Regions from separate parts of the Homo sapiens genome. Here region 2 is linked to region 1. The links are contacts of gene promoters, found by promoter capture Hi-C in human tissues and cell types (Jung and others, 2019). All regions are on one chromosome and are shown on one strand. The core of a region is centred on a gene start or on the middle of the fragment in contact, and the rest is flanking DNA. Distances in the headings are between cores, read along the strand shown.

Region 1 (7,631 bases), core at 2,299-4,798:
TCTCCTGTCTCAGCCTCCCGAGAAGCTGGGATTACAGGCATGCATCACCACGCATGGCTAATCTTTGTATTTTTAGTAGAGACGGGGTTTCACCACGTTGGCCAGGCTGGTCTCGAACTCCTGACCTCAGGTGATCCGTTCACCTCGGCCTCCCAATGTGCTGGGATTACAGGCGTGAGCCACCACCTTATTTTGTATTTTAAACATGTTACACATTTACAGGGTTCCAAGTTTATATATAAAACAAGATATATTCAGAGAGGTCTAGCTTCCATTCCTATTTTCTACTTCACCTGTTCTTGATCTTCTCCTATTGTTTACCATTTTTATTAGATTTTGGTTTACCTTTCTATTGTTTATTTTTGAAAATATAAGTAAGTATCCATTTGTATATGTATCTCTACCACCCCGTATACCAAAGGCAGCATACTATATACACTCTTTTATGCCTTGCTTTTTCACTTCACTTCACATCATAGTCATATATCTTCCACATTCCTTAACAGCTTCATAATACTTTGTCGTAAGCATGCATCATTTGAAAAAATGTTCCACTTCATTGACAAAAAGATAAATACAAAACTATACTGGAGGCTGGGCGCAGTCGCTCATGCCTGTAAACTCAGCACTTTGCGAGGCCGAGGTGAGTGGATAGGTTGAGGTCAGAAGTTCGAGACCAGCCTGGCCAACATGGCGAAACCCTGTCTCTACTAAAATTACAAAAATTAGCCAGGCGTGGTGGTGATTGCCTGTGGTCCCAGCTACTCAGGAGGTTGAGGCAGGAGAATCGCTTGAACCTGGGAGGCAGAAGTTGCAGTGAGCCAAGATAGAGCCACTGAACTCCAGCCTGGGCAACAGAGTGAGACTCCGTCTCAAAAAAAAAAAAAAAAAAACTACACTTTGATAACATTTCCCACATATCGATTTAGCAAACATCTAGGAGTTTGACAATTCATTCTATTGGAGAGGCTGCAGAGAAACAGGAAATGCTGCTGGTGTGAATACAAAACTGCACAACCCCTATGAAGGGGAATTTGGCAGAATTAAACAAAATAACATGTTCTTTTACCCTTTGACCTAACAATCCCATTTATAGAAATCTATGCTAAAGACCCACTGGCAAAAGCATATTATATATGCACAAGGAAACTTTTGTATAGCAAAAGACTGGGAATAGCCAACATATCCACTAGTAAGGGCCTGGCTAAATAAACTACAGTACATCCATATATAACCAAAAAGAATAATTATGCCCAGTTCATTTAAAACACAGTATCTTGATTTTACATCCTTAGTTGGATACAATTTTAGAAAAAAGGAAGTACATGCAAAGTTAAACTTCATTTATCTGTTAGCAATATCTCTATTGTTATTCTGTTTTTATTCTTTATCCTGTTATTGCTATTGTTGTGTTTATATACCTGTGAATATAGGTAGATGAAGCAAATAACCATTATGTTAATATTAATATTTATTAATAGTAACATTAATAATAAGGCAATGAAAAGAACCAATATTTTCATTGCCTCCTTGTGTGTAGGAAAAAAGAACCAATATTTTCATCTTAAGAGAAAGGAAGGGCCGGATGTGGTGGCTCACACCTGTAATCCCAGCACTTTGGGAGGCCGAGGCGGGTGGATCACGAGGTCAGGAGTTCAGGACCAGCCTGGCCAAAATGGTGAAACACCGTCTCTACTAAACATACAAAAATTAGCCGGGCCTGCTGGCAGACGCCTGTAATCCCAGCTGCTTGGGAGGCTGAGGCAGAGAATTGCTTGAACGTGGGAGGTGGAGTTTGCAGTGAGCCGAAATTGTGCAACTGCACTCCAGCCTGGGCGACAGAGCGAGACTCCATCACAAAAAAAAAAAAAAAAAAAGAGAAAGGAGACGAAAAACAAGAAGAGCTCAGCTTTAAAAAAGGATCACGACGTAGAAAAAGACACAACACTGAAGATTGTCATGGGTCTTTAAGAAAAGGAAATTTGAGACGGCTAAAACGCCGAACAGTGTGGAGTTTGGGGAAGAGATGTGGCTAAAGACAGCGTAAGCAATTTTTTAAAGTTATGTCTGAAGCAAGAAGAAAAGACAAGGAATAGGTTCAGTTTCATCTCTGATACACCGTTTCTTGTTAAAATTGATGTTTTTTTCTGCAGGCATTTGCTTCCTGAATGATGGTCCCACTCAGCCATCCACCTATACTTTCTACAAAGTCAATTTATACTGATTCTTCAGATCAGTTAATCACTGGTACGTTTCCCCTCCCCGGTCAAGGATCTTTTATTATACGCTATCATAGAATCATATTCCTTTCCTTAGCGCACTTCTCTCAACTGATAAGTGCCGCCATTAATGTACTTACTTGATAAATATATGCCTGCCTTTCCTCTTCCAGGGCCGAAACTGTGCCTGGTTTTGCTCATCATTCTATAGTCTATAGCACGAGTTCAATAAACAGTTGTTAAAGCAACATATTTAACTTACATTTTGTTCCCATCTCTTCACTCAGAGACTTTTCTTTGGATTGGGAAGGGTAAAATATCCGAAGATTTGAACTCCAAAAGAAACAAAATGATTCTATGCAAACGTTTCCTACTTAAAACTCATTCATTGGACAAATATTCACTTAGTCCCTGGCACTATTTGGTAATAGGAATACAGGAGTGCATATGGCAGATAAAGTTCTGTTGCTGCCCTTACCAAGTTTCGTGGGGGTGAGATGTGGTGTTAGTAAATGCATACTATTTTGTCTGTATTTAAATCGAGTCCAAATCTCTCGCTCTACAGCCCGCCTTGGGATGTTTCTTATATCCCAAGAAACAGAATATTTTGATGGGATCGCTGATGTTTCAGACTGCAAAAGCAGCTCAGGGCGTTTGCAGTCGTGCAAGTCAACAAGATAACCGTCTGGACCGGAAGCTGGGCTCCTCCCGGTCTCCTAACGCCAAATCCAACACCAAGCTTCTGCAGCTGCCACCTCCCGTAGACTTCGCATTTCTTCCGCACTCTCCTCTCACGACGGGTCTTCTTTGTTGTACTTAATTTCCTACGCAATAAGATTTCAGCATGACCATCAGTCCCCCAAAGACTAATTCCCACAGAGCCGAAGTTCCCACCAAGGGCCGAGGGTTAAGGTTACTAAAATCAGCGTTTCTGAATCCTGTCTCAAGTTGTCTCATCTGGGCTTCCGTAAGAACGGTTTCTTCATAAGAGGGCCTTCAGCGACAGCCAAGCTCGGAAAAGAACGGGAATAAGTTGTCTTTTATATTTCCTCAAATACTGTGAATGGTCTGAGGCGCAGGTCAGGTGTATTTAAAAACCTTTAAACAGTATTCCCCCGCCCCAAAAACTGGCCTTGAAGGAACAAGTGAAACTCATCCTGCTTTTCATGTTTGCTGGGTTTGCCCGTTACACCCCTTCGCCCGCACTTATCTAGACAGGCAGCTCTCGGCCACCCTCCGGGGTCCTGATTTTGAAAAGAGGAGTGGACCAATCAGATGTGGAGCGCTGTTTCGCGCTGCCATTTGAGCCTGGGCTGAAACTGCGGGTGTGACCCCCCCGTGGTGGCTCTGGGTGTCTGCGGAGGAGCTGGGGGCGGAAGCATGAGGCTAACGGCTTGGCTTCAGTGAACGCACCGGGATGTGCAGGCCGGGAGGTAGAGGCAGGCTGATGGGGGAGGGAACGAGCAGCCTGTGAGACGGGGTGACGGCGGCTACCAGCCCGGGCGGGCACCGGGACTGGAAGAGTTGCCTGAGCAGCCGGCTGGTCCGGCGGCCAGGCTAGGGCGGGGGCGAGCGCCCAGTTGAGCCTGCTGGGGCTGGAGGAGCGAGAAGGGTTTTCTTCACATTTCAGAGCGAACCAGACGGGGACAGTAAGGTTTGGAGGAAGGGGGATCGTTGGAAGTAGCAAGAAGTGGAGAGAATCTGGCAATAGACGAGAAACCGAAAGAATCAGAAAGAAGTCTATGTGAGTAGCTGAAAGCATTGGGTGACCAGAAAGAAGGTCGGTGTAAGTGAAGGAAGAGTGAGGTGTGGCTGGATCAAAGGGCTAAGAGAAGCGGGTCTGTGTAAGTGGATGTGAGTGAGGATCAAGGAAAAGCCGTGGAAGTGGCCGGGGGTCGGGGCCGCAGAAGTGCCAGACGGGGCCGGAAAGCAGCCGAGCGGAGTTCAAATTTGAGAGCGTTTGGAAATTGGAAGACTTGGTGGCGAACGAGGGTCAGGACCTGCATCCTGCCTCAGAGAGTTATCGACGTATCCGGAATGTGGGATCAGAGGCTGGTGAGGTTGGCCCTGTTGCAGCATCTGCGGGCCTTCTATGGTATTAAGGTGAAGGGTGTCCGTGGGCAGTGCGATCGCAGGAGACATGAAACAGCAGCCACGGAAATAGGGGTAAGTTCTGTGAAAAGGGATTTAGGTTTAAAAGAAAGGGCACACCCTTTATCATCACTTACTACCAGATCGTGCTAAAATGTTCACTCTGTGTATCAAAAAGAATGGTTAGGTGTGTAATTCAGTTCAGATGGTCGATTGCTGATATTTAAAAAGTGACATTCTTGTTTTTTTTCCCCCAAGGATTTTTGATCATTGAGAGAAAGTTGCAGGATTTTCCAACTTCAGCACTATTGACATTTTGGATTAGATAATTTTTGTTAGGGGAAGACGAAATGCTGTTCTGTGAATTGTGGGATGTTTAGCGGGATGTCTGTCTTTTACCCACTAGATGCTGGTAGCATCTCTCAGTTGTGACAATTAAAAATGTCTCCGGATATTGCCAGCTTACTGTATTTGGAACAGGTAGTACGTTGGGAGGGACAAAAACTCTACCCCTCCACCCTTGTTTTAGAGTAAGGTTGTAGAGGGACAAGGGAGACCAGTGCATTTTCTACATGAATCTGTAGATGAAGAAGTATGACAGAACATTAGAAATAGGCTTCAAATGATGACTGCATATTCACTAATTTGGGAAACAGATTTGCTGCTTGGCCATGTCATACTTTTGGGACAGTAAATTTTTTTTTGTATGAGTAAATTGAGAAGCCAGAGTGGAATAATTGAGAAGTTGTTGATGTTTTGGTGGTTGAAATAAAGGGATTTTGAATGAGATTTTAATAGCTCTGCCACATAATCAGGAATTCCATTGTGAAAAATAAGCTGAATGTAAAGCATTTTATTTTAAATTTATGTGCCTAATTTATATGGTACTTCCTAGTACTTGGAGACAAGCTAATAAAATTAATATACGTTGCTTTTAATAGTTTATGGTTTCTTAAAAAAAGTGCTTGGAGAAGAAAACCACTAACAAAAGTAATATGTGTGCCTCTTAATCGCTGATAAACTTTGGAGAAGTTATTTTTGTTGGTAGCAAATTAATGGCAATACATGTACTTACATTTAAAAAGCTACAGTGATTTTTTTCTGATTGTAAAACTGGCTTTCCAAGATCTCAAATGTAGCTGATTTTGTAAGTATATGGAAGAGTTTGTATATGGACTTTTTTTCACCCCTTTTCTTTTCTTTTCCTTTTTTTTTTTTTTTTTTGAGATGGAGTCTCCCTCTGTCGCCCAGGCTGGAGTGCAGTGGCGCGATCTTGGCTCACTGCAAGCTCTGCCTCCCGGGTTCACGCCATTCTCCTGCCTCAGCTTCCCGAGTAGCTGGGACTACAGGCGCCCGCCACCACACCTGGCTAATTTTTTGTATTTTTTAGTAGAGACGGGATTTCACCGTGTTAGCCAGGATGGTCTCGATCTCCTGCCCTCGTGATCCGCCCGCCTCGGCCTCCCAAAGTGGTGGGATGGCAGGCGTGAGCCACTGCACTCGGCCTTTTCACCGCTTAACAAGAAAAACTGTTGCCTGTTTTCAGAGTCAGATAGACCTGAGTTTGAGTGCTGTTCCACCCCTACTACATCTGTAAACTTGGGCTGCTTGTTTGATTTCCCTAAGCTTCAGTTTTATATATATAAAGTGGGAACGTATTTCTCCTTGGATTATTTAGGGATTTTTAAAAAGTGAAGCTCTTTATGTAGGCCTAGCACAGTGCGGGTAACATGCCACTTCTTCATCTAATGATAGTTGTCATATCATTGGTCTGCCTCCTAATTGGTAATCATGCCATATAAATTCAGCTAGAAACACTTATAAGAATATTCTAATGAAGAAATATAGAAGATCATTGTGTTAGGAGATCTAATGGGATAGTTTGTTTGAAAACAATTTCTTTAGCCGACTGGTGTTTGTTAGCTAACTGTAGTTTTAAGTTTTAAAAACATTTTATGAGATTAAATTATAGTGGTTACTTGTGAGGCCAGTTATTCTAAATAATAAGACTTAAGGAAAAAAACACGCTGAATTCTAGTTATATATAGCAGAAGTAGACTTACCAGCTTAAGTATCTGGTTTATTTTTACATTTGGTTTGGCTGCACAGTATCAAGAAAATTCTGATTTACCCAATAAAGGGGTTGCCCATACTAACATTTTTTAAAATAGTTCAGCTTAAAATGATGATCATAATATTAACAAATATTTTTTGAATGCTTACTGTGTGTCAGACACTGATACAAGTGTTTTGTATGTTTTAATTTATTTAATTCTTCCTACACCTCTATGACTTAGGATCTGTGTGAGGATACCGAGGAACAGAATGTTAATTTGATCCAGGTCACTCAGCTGTTAAGCAAGAGTTAAGATGTAAAGCCTGGCATTTTTGTGTGTGCGATGGCTCACGCCTGTAATCCCAGCATTTTGGGAGGCCGAGGCGGGTGGATAACGAGGTCAGGAGATCGAGACCATCCTAGCTAACACGGTGAAACCCCCCCCCCCCCGCCCCACGTCTCTACTAAAAATACAAAAAAATTAGCCAGGTGTGGTGGCGGGCGCCTGTAGTCCCAGCTACTCGGGAAGCTGAGGCAGGAGAATGGGTGAACCCGGGAGGCGGAGCTTGCAGTGAGCCGAGATTGCGCCACTGCACTCCAGCCTGGGCCACAAAGTGAGACTCCCTCTCAAAAAAAATACACCTGTCATTTTTGCCTTCAGGAGCCTACTCTCTTAAGCACTTACTATACTATACTGTCTTTTCAGCTTACAATATTTGTAAATTAATTGGAGCCAGGTGCTTGAAAGGGAATTAGTAAAATTTTGTTACTGTGTTGCGTCATTGACAATGCTGAGTGGTTTTTATTGTAAATATAAAGTTAAATATAATGCTCATAAAACATAAATACTTCTTGGTTGATAACTTGTGACATCAAAAAAAGTACTTCAGCATTCACAGAGCAGATGCATGTAAACTAAATTAACATGTGAGATTATGCATACCCACTTAAGTTTGAATAACCAGACATTTACAGGCTTGAATTTACCTTTCAGTGCTGTGGAAAGCGACACATTTTTAAGAGGTTCGAATGCATGCACAAAGATAGTGGCAGATTCTTTATTCTTCAGTGTGCAAAAACATTCAAGTTAACCAACACACAGCTTTACTCTTGGGATCTTCAGTGTATTAAAATTTGAATGTGAGGTTTTAAAAATGGGTTTCCAGCTAGTTAAATGAAGTTTGACTTAAATATTTGCACACTCCTGCCTTGCTTACTGCAGGGCATGGTTTGAAAAGCACTCTTCTATAGAAGGTGGAAAATGT
Region 2 (7,284 bases), core at 2,605-5,104, 35 kb after region 1:
TGAATGCCAGCTTCATCATTTATTACTAATATGACCTTGGGCAAGTTACTTAACTCCTATAACCTTCTGTTTAGCTTAGGGGTAGGATTTAAATTCACTTACTTGTAAGCAGGTAATGTTCCAGTCCACAGAAGCAAAAATAAAGTTTTAGCATGGATAACTGTGCTACGATGAAATAATTTCTAAACAAATCATCATCATCATCACTTTAGATAATTACTGGATGTTAAGTTCCTTGCAGGCAGAGTTGTTCACTGCCCAACACATGGTACATAGAAGACAAATATCTATCTTGTCTACTTAAATAAATTAATTGTATGATCAATGGATCTTAACAAATGTGTATATTTGCTCTCAAATATAGAATTATAAATTGGCCTTTTAGTATAGGAATATAGTATCAGTATAAATTAATGTTAGGTCAGTGAGGTATCATATATCCCATTAAAAAAAACATATCTTCTTTGATTCCATATCCCTTCTAGTTACTGTTCCAATTTTCTGCTGCCTTTCACAGCAACCTTTCACAGCTGCCTTTCACAGCCTTTCCTCACATGCCAATTGTACTTCTTCACCTCTCATTCTCTCCTGGTCCATTGTAGCCCACTGTTCTCACCGCTCATTCATTAAACCTACTAGTATTTATTGAGTGCCAGGCACTGTTTTAGGTACTGAGGAAATAAACGTGAACAGCAAAGTAGCAGGGCGAGGAAATGTAGTCCTTAAATAAACAAATAAGTATTGGGCTTTCCTTTTTTCCTTTTTTTCTTTACCCATTTGTTAGTTTCGTTTACAGGTTTCTCTGGCGGCCTTTAAAAGTTAAGTTCTCCAGGGCTCAGTGCTGGGTCCACTTCTCTTATTTCCCTCAATTCTCTATCTACTTGATCTCATTCATTCTCTTGACTCTCAATCCATTTCTTGGCTGGTGACTCCGGTGTTTGTATTTCAGCCCACATTTCTTTCTTGCATATCCATAGGCTTACACTAATTGCTAAATTGCCAGGTTTCGATCCTGATTTCTCAAACCACCACCTTCCCCAGCCTGTTTATATCAGTCTTTTCTGTCTAAATGAGTAGTGCCCCTGCTTAGCCATATATGCAAACTAAATACCTACAGTAACCCTTGATTTTCTCCATCACACTTCATGCCTCAATTTTAAGTAATTTATTTCATTTTTATCTCTAAAATCCATGTGCAATTTCCTGTCTGCTTCTCTCTAGCTCTACTCCAAACACCCTGGTCCAAGATACCATCATGTCTGGCATGGAGTTTTGAAATCGCCTCCTAACTCATCTTCCTGCTTCTATTCTTGATCCCTTTTCGATTGTTCTTCACAGGAAGAACAGGAGTTAAACTTTTTTCAGGAGTTAAACTTGAAAAGTTTAAACCATATTAGTGTCATCTCCGTAGTTACAATTCCATTGGTGGCTTCCCATCGTACCCTGAATAAAAATAACCCTTCTTGCCATGACCTACGAGGATCCACAGCTCCAGTCAATCGTACTCCCTACTTTGTTCCACGCATTCTGGCCCTGAGTCACACCGGCCTCTTCCCACCTCAAGGCTATCAACACATTGGATGGGATCAACAATGGGAGGCTATCAACCTCCCATTCCTTGTGTAGCGAGTTTCAAAGTCACCCACTCAGAGAGGGCTGCCTGACTGCCCTGTCTGAGTAGCACCCCCCTACATTCTCTGTTGCAGTCTCCTTTTTTTTTTTTAAAAAAAAAACAGAGTCTCACTCTGTCCCCCAGGCTGGAGTGCAATGGTGCGATCTCGGCTCACTGCAAGCTCCGCCTCCCGGGTTCTCGCCATTCTCCTGCCTCAGCCTCCCCAGTAGCTGGGACTACAGGCGCCCGCCACCACGCCCGGCTAATTTTTTGTGTTTTTAGTAGAGACGGGGTTTCACCGTGTTAGCCTCCTGACCTCGTGATCCTCCCGCCTTGGCCTCCCAAAGTGCTGGGATTACAGGCGTGAGCCGCCATGTCCAGCCTTTTTTTTTAAAGCTCCATAGCATTTTTTGTCATTTATAATCATTGTTTGTTTTCTTGCTTATTGTTTATCTCTCCACTGGAATGTAAGCTCCATGAGGCTATATCTGCTTATTAACTGCATTATATTCCAGGCACATAGTAAGCATTCAGTAAATATTTGAGGAATTAATGTATAATATCAGGGGGAAATAAATATACCTAATGGCAATAAGTATGTAAATACTGTTTTACATCTGGATCTGTCAAGACTTTCTGCCTTTTAGTTCAAGGAAAATATTCCATTTCTATTCTGTTTTTAAAAATCTCTGCCTAGAGGTTCTTGCCATGAGCTTAGTGATAATGTGGTGAGCAAAAATGTCTGTTATCTAGAATTGACTATGACTGTGATCACCATGGTGCAAGGTTTGTGCCCTTTGTACAGCGCCTACCAAGGAGCTAGAAGGACTTTTTGCAGTCCTGGGACTAAACCAGCAGAGGGCCAACTAGACTAGAAGTTTATTTTGGAAGATTCCTGAACCCTGGTAGCCAGCCTCCTGGTCGTTAATAGCTTTAAGTGGTCGCTGGGGTAGAAGCATTTGCCAAAACATCCAGAGAGGATTGGGGGTTATGTTTAACTTCTCCGTGGGCGCCTTAAAAACAGCTTGGTAAGGAGCATCTTTCAAATGTGTAAATTCTTAGTCCAAAGCAAATAAAAACACAAAGACAAACAGGGACCTACTTGGCATTACATGAAAAAAAAGAGTGTGTATGTTTATGGCAGAGAACTCGGGTTAACCCGTAGCCGTACTATTTTCTAGCTATGTGTAATCCTGGCAACTTTCTAAGCCTAGTTCTCTCAAATAAAATCGGCCCAAATAAAATGGGCTTGTCTGGTTCGAGTTGGTGTTTGAAAAATAAAAATAAAATAAAATGGGGTTTCCAGCCCACTCTTACATGCAATCAGTGGGTGCCATTAGTAACTGAATTGCAGGCCTTCCTCCTCTCACTTTGTGGATTATCAACAACATGTTTTCAGTCTTTAATGGCTTACCCCAATCTTATTTATTTATTTATTTTTTGAGACGGAGTCTTGCTCTTTCGCCCAGGCTGGAGTGCAGTGGCGGGATCTCAGCTCACTGCAAGCTCTGCCCTCCCAGGTTCATGCCATTCTCCTGCCTCAGCCTCGCGAGTAGCTGGGACTACAGGTGCCCGCCACCACACCTGGCTAATTTTTTTTTCGTATTTTTAGTAGAGACGGGGTTTCACCATGTTAGCCAGGATGGTCTCGATCTCCTGACCTCGTGATCCGCCCATCTCGGCCTCCCAAAGTGCTGGGATTACAGGCGTGAGCCACCACGCCCGGCGCCCCAGTCTTATTTTTGATTACTCATCAGTTAGCAATACAGTTCAGATATGCTTCAGTGCACCATATATTTCAGCAGTAACCATCTTCTCCCAAGCCCACGGTTGCTCACTGGTCTCCAAGACATAGCTAAATGGCTACTGTTGTATTATCCCCAGAAACAAATAAAGCCACCAACTGTCCAGGGGACTGATTCGGAGAACCATGTGCTGTGAGATGGGAGCTCTTGGGAGTTAGAACTGGTTGTGCCAGCTGACACTGATGATGGCCTTGGATGGCCTTGGATGAATCCAACCAGAAAATGTGCTTTCGTTTTCAGAACATTAACAGCTTCAGGTAAAAGATAGGCTGCTCAGTGCCAGCTGTTCATTTTCCCCACAGTTCTAGGCCACCAGCTATCTAGCACTGTGATAACACCAGTTATCTAGCCATTAAGATAGAAATGTATAAACATTAGCATTTGATGGCTCTGAGTAATTTTAAATCCATATTGCCAAACATTAAAATACCCACGTTCTGCCGGGCGCGATGGCTCACGCCTGTAATCCCAGCACTTTGGGAGGCCGAGGCGGGCGGATCACCTGAGGTCAGAAGTTCGAGACCAGCCTGGCTAACATGGTGAAACCCCGTTTCTACTAAAAATACAAAAAATTAGCTGGGCATGGTGGCACGTGCCTGTAATCCCAGCTACTCGGGAGGCTGAGGCAGGAGAATCGCTTGAACCCTAAAGGCAGAGATTGCAGTGAGCCAAGATCGCCCATTGCACTCCAGCGTGGGCAACAAGAGCGAAACTCTGTCTCAGAAAAATAAAATAAAATAAAATACGTTCTTTTTTATAACACTGACTGTTGGACTTCAAATTTTTCACTTAGAAATAGAGACCCAAGGTTATTTTCTTAATAAATATCAAGTGGAGAAAGAGTCCTGTGGATGATAGGCTACTTGAAGAGGCAGATCCTAGGAGCCTCTACTCTGCCAAGCTTTGGCCTTGGTAAAGGAGCTGCAGTGCCTCCGCTTTGCCACAGGGTGGCAACAGTTGCTTCCCATTTGAGGATGGCGGGGTGAAGCAAACCTTGAACTGTAGGGGACACTCCGTTTCTGGCTAGTCTCTCTCTGCAGTTGGAGAAAGCAGTGCAGCTGACTCTTATGTGTCTTGACTAAAATCTGTTTCTAGGTTATCCTCACCCTGGAGGAACCAATGAGAACATTGGGCTTGTAGGCCATCTATGAATGGACTGGGACCGCCCAATGGGCCCATGCCTTTGGGGTTGCATTTTGTCCACCTTGAACTTCAATCCTTAAAGTCTCTGGATGATTTTCAGTTTTTCTCTGTTGAGCAATTGCATGGATAGTAATGAGAAATTCAAAAGAAACGGGGAGGTTCTTTTTGGGAGGGGAAAAGGATAGGAAAGATGAACACGATGACATGTTTGTGTATGTTTACAGTGTCCTGGGTATCCAGAAGGCACTTAGATGTATATGGCACAGGAGAGAAGTCTGGGAGAAGGAAGGGTTTCAGAGTCATCCCCGTGTTAGTGGTGGCTGATACTGTAGGGGTGGATGGGGTCACCCTGGGTGGGTATTGAGAACAACAGGGCACCTAAGACAAAGGCCAGGTAGATGAAGAAGAATCCACAAAGGAAACTGGGATAAATCGGCCAGAAAGGAGAAGAACCAGAAAGATAGAGTGTAATGAAAACAAGGAAATAGTGTTCTGAGAAGGGGCAGTGGTTACCACTGTCAGGATCAGCAGAGAGGTCACATGAAATAGTAAAAACCACTGGGTGTCAAGTGTTCACTGGGGGTAGCAACACAGAAGTTACTGCTTTGTGGGGGCTTTGGGCAGAGCCGGCTCTGGGGAGTAGTGGGGGCCCACCATACCTGCAGGGCATTGAGGGGATAAACAAGGAAGAAATGCAACGTATAAATGTGTTCCCAGAATGTCAGGTAAAGGGGAGATGAGTAATAGCTGTGGAAGGATTGGGGGAAGGGTGAATGATTTAGAGCTGAGGACGGTTTCTGTTAAGGTTGTTTTAGGATGTGAGAAATTGAACTTGCTGAAGTGCTAATTGCTAAGAACCAGCAGAGAGGGAGAGTTGAAGATGTGGGATGGGGAGCAGCAACTGAGGAGGTGGGAGAGGATGAGGACTGGAGCACAGGTGTTGGCCTGTGTCTTAGGTCTTTCCTTCCTCCATTGGGGAAAAAGGAAAGTGGCAAAGGTGTGCTGGGATACAGAGCTTTGGAGGTTTTGGCCTCAGGTGTTTGCAAGCACTGTACTAATTCTAGCCACCTTCTCAATTAAAATAAGAATACAAGAATGAAATGCAGTCTCCCAAATCTCTTTTCTTTGCCAGCTTATACATTTATACACCTCACTGATATGTCTTTTGATGTTTTAAAATTTTGGACAGCACTATTTTTAACTTTTACAACTATAACTATTAGTTATTTACTAGTTATAGTATAAACTTTTAATATTTACTTTTTATAACTCCTAGATGTCTTGTAGATCAAAAGATCTAAAGTGTCATCTTTGTCTATTTTATATCTTGTTTAATAGTAATAAATGTTTTAGTGAAGCATAAACCTAGAACAAAAATAGAAAATAATCTTAATAGGGTGTTGGGGAATTTTATGTGAACACTTCATGTGTCTTTGGAACAGTACAATGTAAAAAATTAGCACAGCCTTATTGCATGCACAAAATGTGAAATAATGTGAATCTTCCCCAAATAACAATTTGTCAAGAATCACAATTTCAAAGTAGTAGGCTTAGTAATTCTAAACAGTGATCGGTAGAATCTGTCATCATCCTCAATTAGGATTGTTCTTGAATTTTGTGAATTTTCAATCACGAGTGAGATCTTTAGTCCATTCCTTAAATAACATGTGACTATCTTAGAATGTCAAAGAGGGACACAGAAAACTAGATAACAACTCCTGAAATTAAGTTTGCTGTATGGCAACTACTAATTGCTCTGCCAGTTGTCTGACTGTAGAATAATCCTTGTGAAATATTCACTTCTATATGGGTTGGAGCCTGGGTAAGTCTGAGCCCCAGTGTATTTTCATGGAAGTCACTAGAACCAGATGTAAATCCTGGGTTCTCTAGAGAAACAGACAAACAGAACCAATAGAATGTATAGAGAGACAGACAGTTATTTTAAAGAGTTGGCTCATATAAACGTGGGGGCTGGCAAGTTGAAAATTTGTAAGACAGACTGGAGACTTGGGCAAGAGTTGATAATTTTGAGTCTGAAGACAGTCCAGAGGCCGAATTATTTCCTTTTCAGAGGACCTCAGTCTTTTCTCTTAACGTCTTCAGTGATTAGATGAAGTCCACCCGTATTATAGAGAGTAATCTGCTTTTCTTAAAGTTCACTGATTTAAATATTACTCACTTTAATACCTTCACAGAAAAATCTAGTGTTGGCTTATGATCACACAACTGGGTACTATAACTTAGGCAGTCTGACACATGAAATTAATAGGGTGTTGGGGAATAAAATTAACACAGCTGTCATCAAGCCTCCATTTCCTAAGGAAAATTATTATAATCCACATAAATATGGTATTTTGCTTTTGAATCTCTCTAACAGAGTCTGGGTCTCAAATTGTCTTCATGCACAGTGTCATGCTTACCCTCACAATCACTTACTGGAGGCAGGCAAGGAGGGTGAGTATTCCTTGCCACCTTTTACAGATGTGGAAAAAGAAACTCAGAGATGAGACTTATCTAGGGATACAGCTTGTCTTCTGGTCTGTTCAGGCTGCTATAACAAAAATTCCACAGACTAGGTGGCTTAAATAACAAAGGTTTATTTCACAGTTCTGGAGGCTGGGAAGTCAAAACCAAGGTGCTGGCAGATTCCGTGCCTGGGGAGAGACTGCTTCCTGATTCATAGGTGGCTGTCTTTCATTGTATTCACATGGCAGAAGAGATGAG

What was found. The method cuts DNA at HindIII sites, captures the fragments that hold promoters and counts their contacts. A contact is called where the count stands out against the background at its distance.
Region 2: a fragment that was not itself captured here is called in contact with the fragment with the promoter of ARHGAP11A in region 1 in 1 of the 25 tissues and cell types used here (hippocampus).

Annotation. Positions count from the first base shown.
Region 1 is chr15:32,611,956-32,619,586 of GRCh38, forward strand. ARHGAP11A (Rho GTPase activating protein 11A) reads left to right here and starts at 3,549. Exons shown (of 12, transcript NM_014783.6): 1 at 3,549-4,385. The coding sequence starts at 4,257. It overlaps ARHGAP11A-SCG5 (ARHGAP11A-SCG5 readthrough), which reads left to right and starts at 3,521. Exons shown (of 14, transcript NM_001368319.1): 1 at 3,521-4,385. The coding sequence starts at 4,257. ARHGAP11A-DT (ARHGAP11A divergent transcript) reads right to left here and starts at 2,791. Exons shown (of 3, transcript NR_135833.1): 1 at 2,482-2,791. The HindIII fragment of the contact is 9,261 bases long and covers 1,349-7,631 here.
Region 2 is chr15:32,647,061-32,654,344 of GRCh38, forward strand. The region is part of intron 10 of ARHGAP11A-SCG5 (ARHGAP11A-SCG5 readthrough); the gene reads left to right. All of the region lies in intron 2 of SCG5 (secretogranin V), which reads left to right. Among named protein-coding and RNA genes, the nearest start is that of SCG5, 9.0 kb to the left of the region's middle. The HindIII fragment of the contact is 6,064 bases long and covers 823-6,886 here.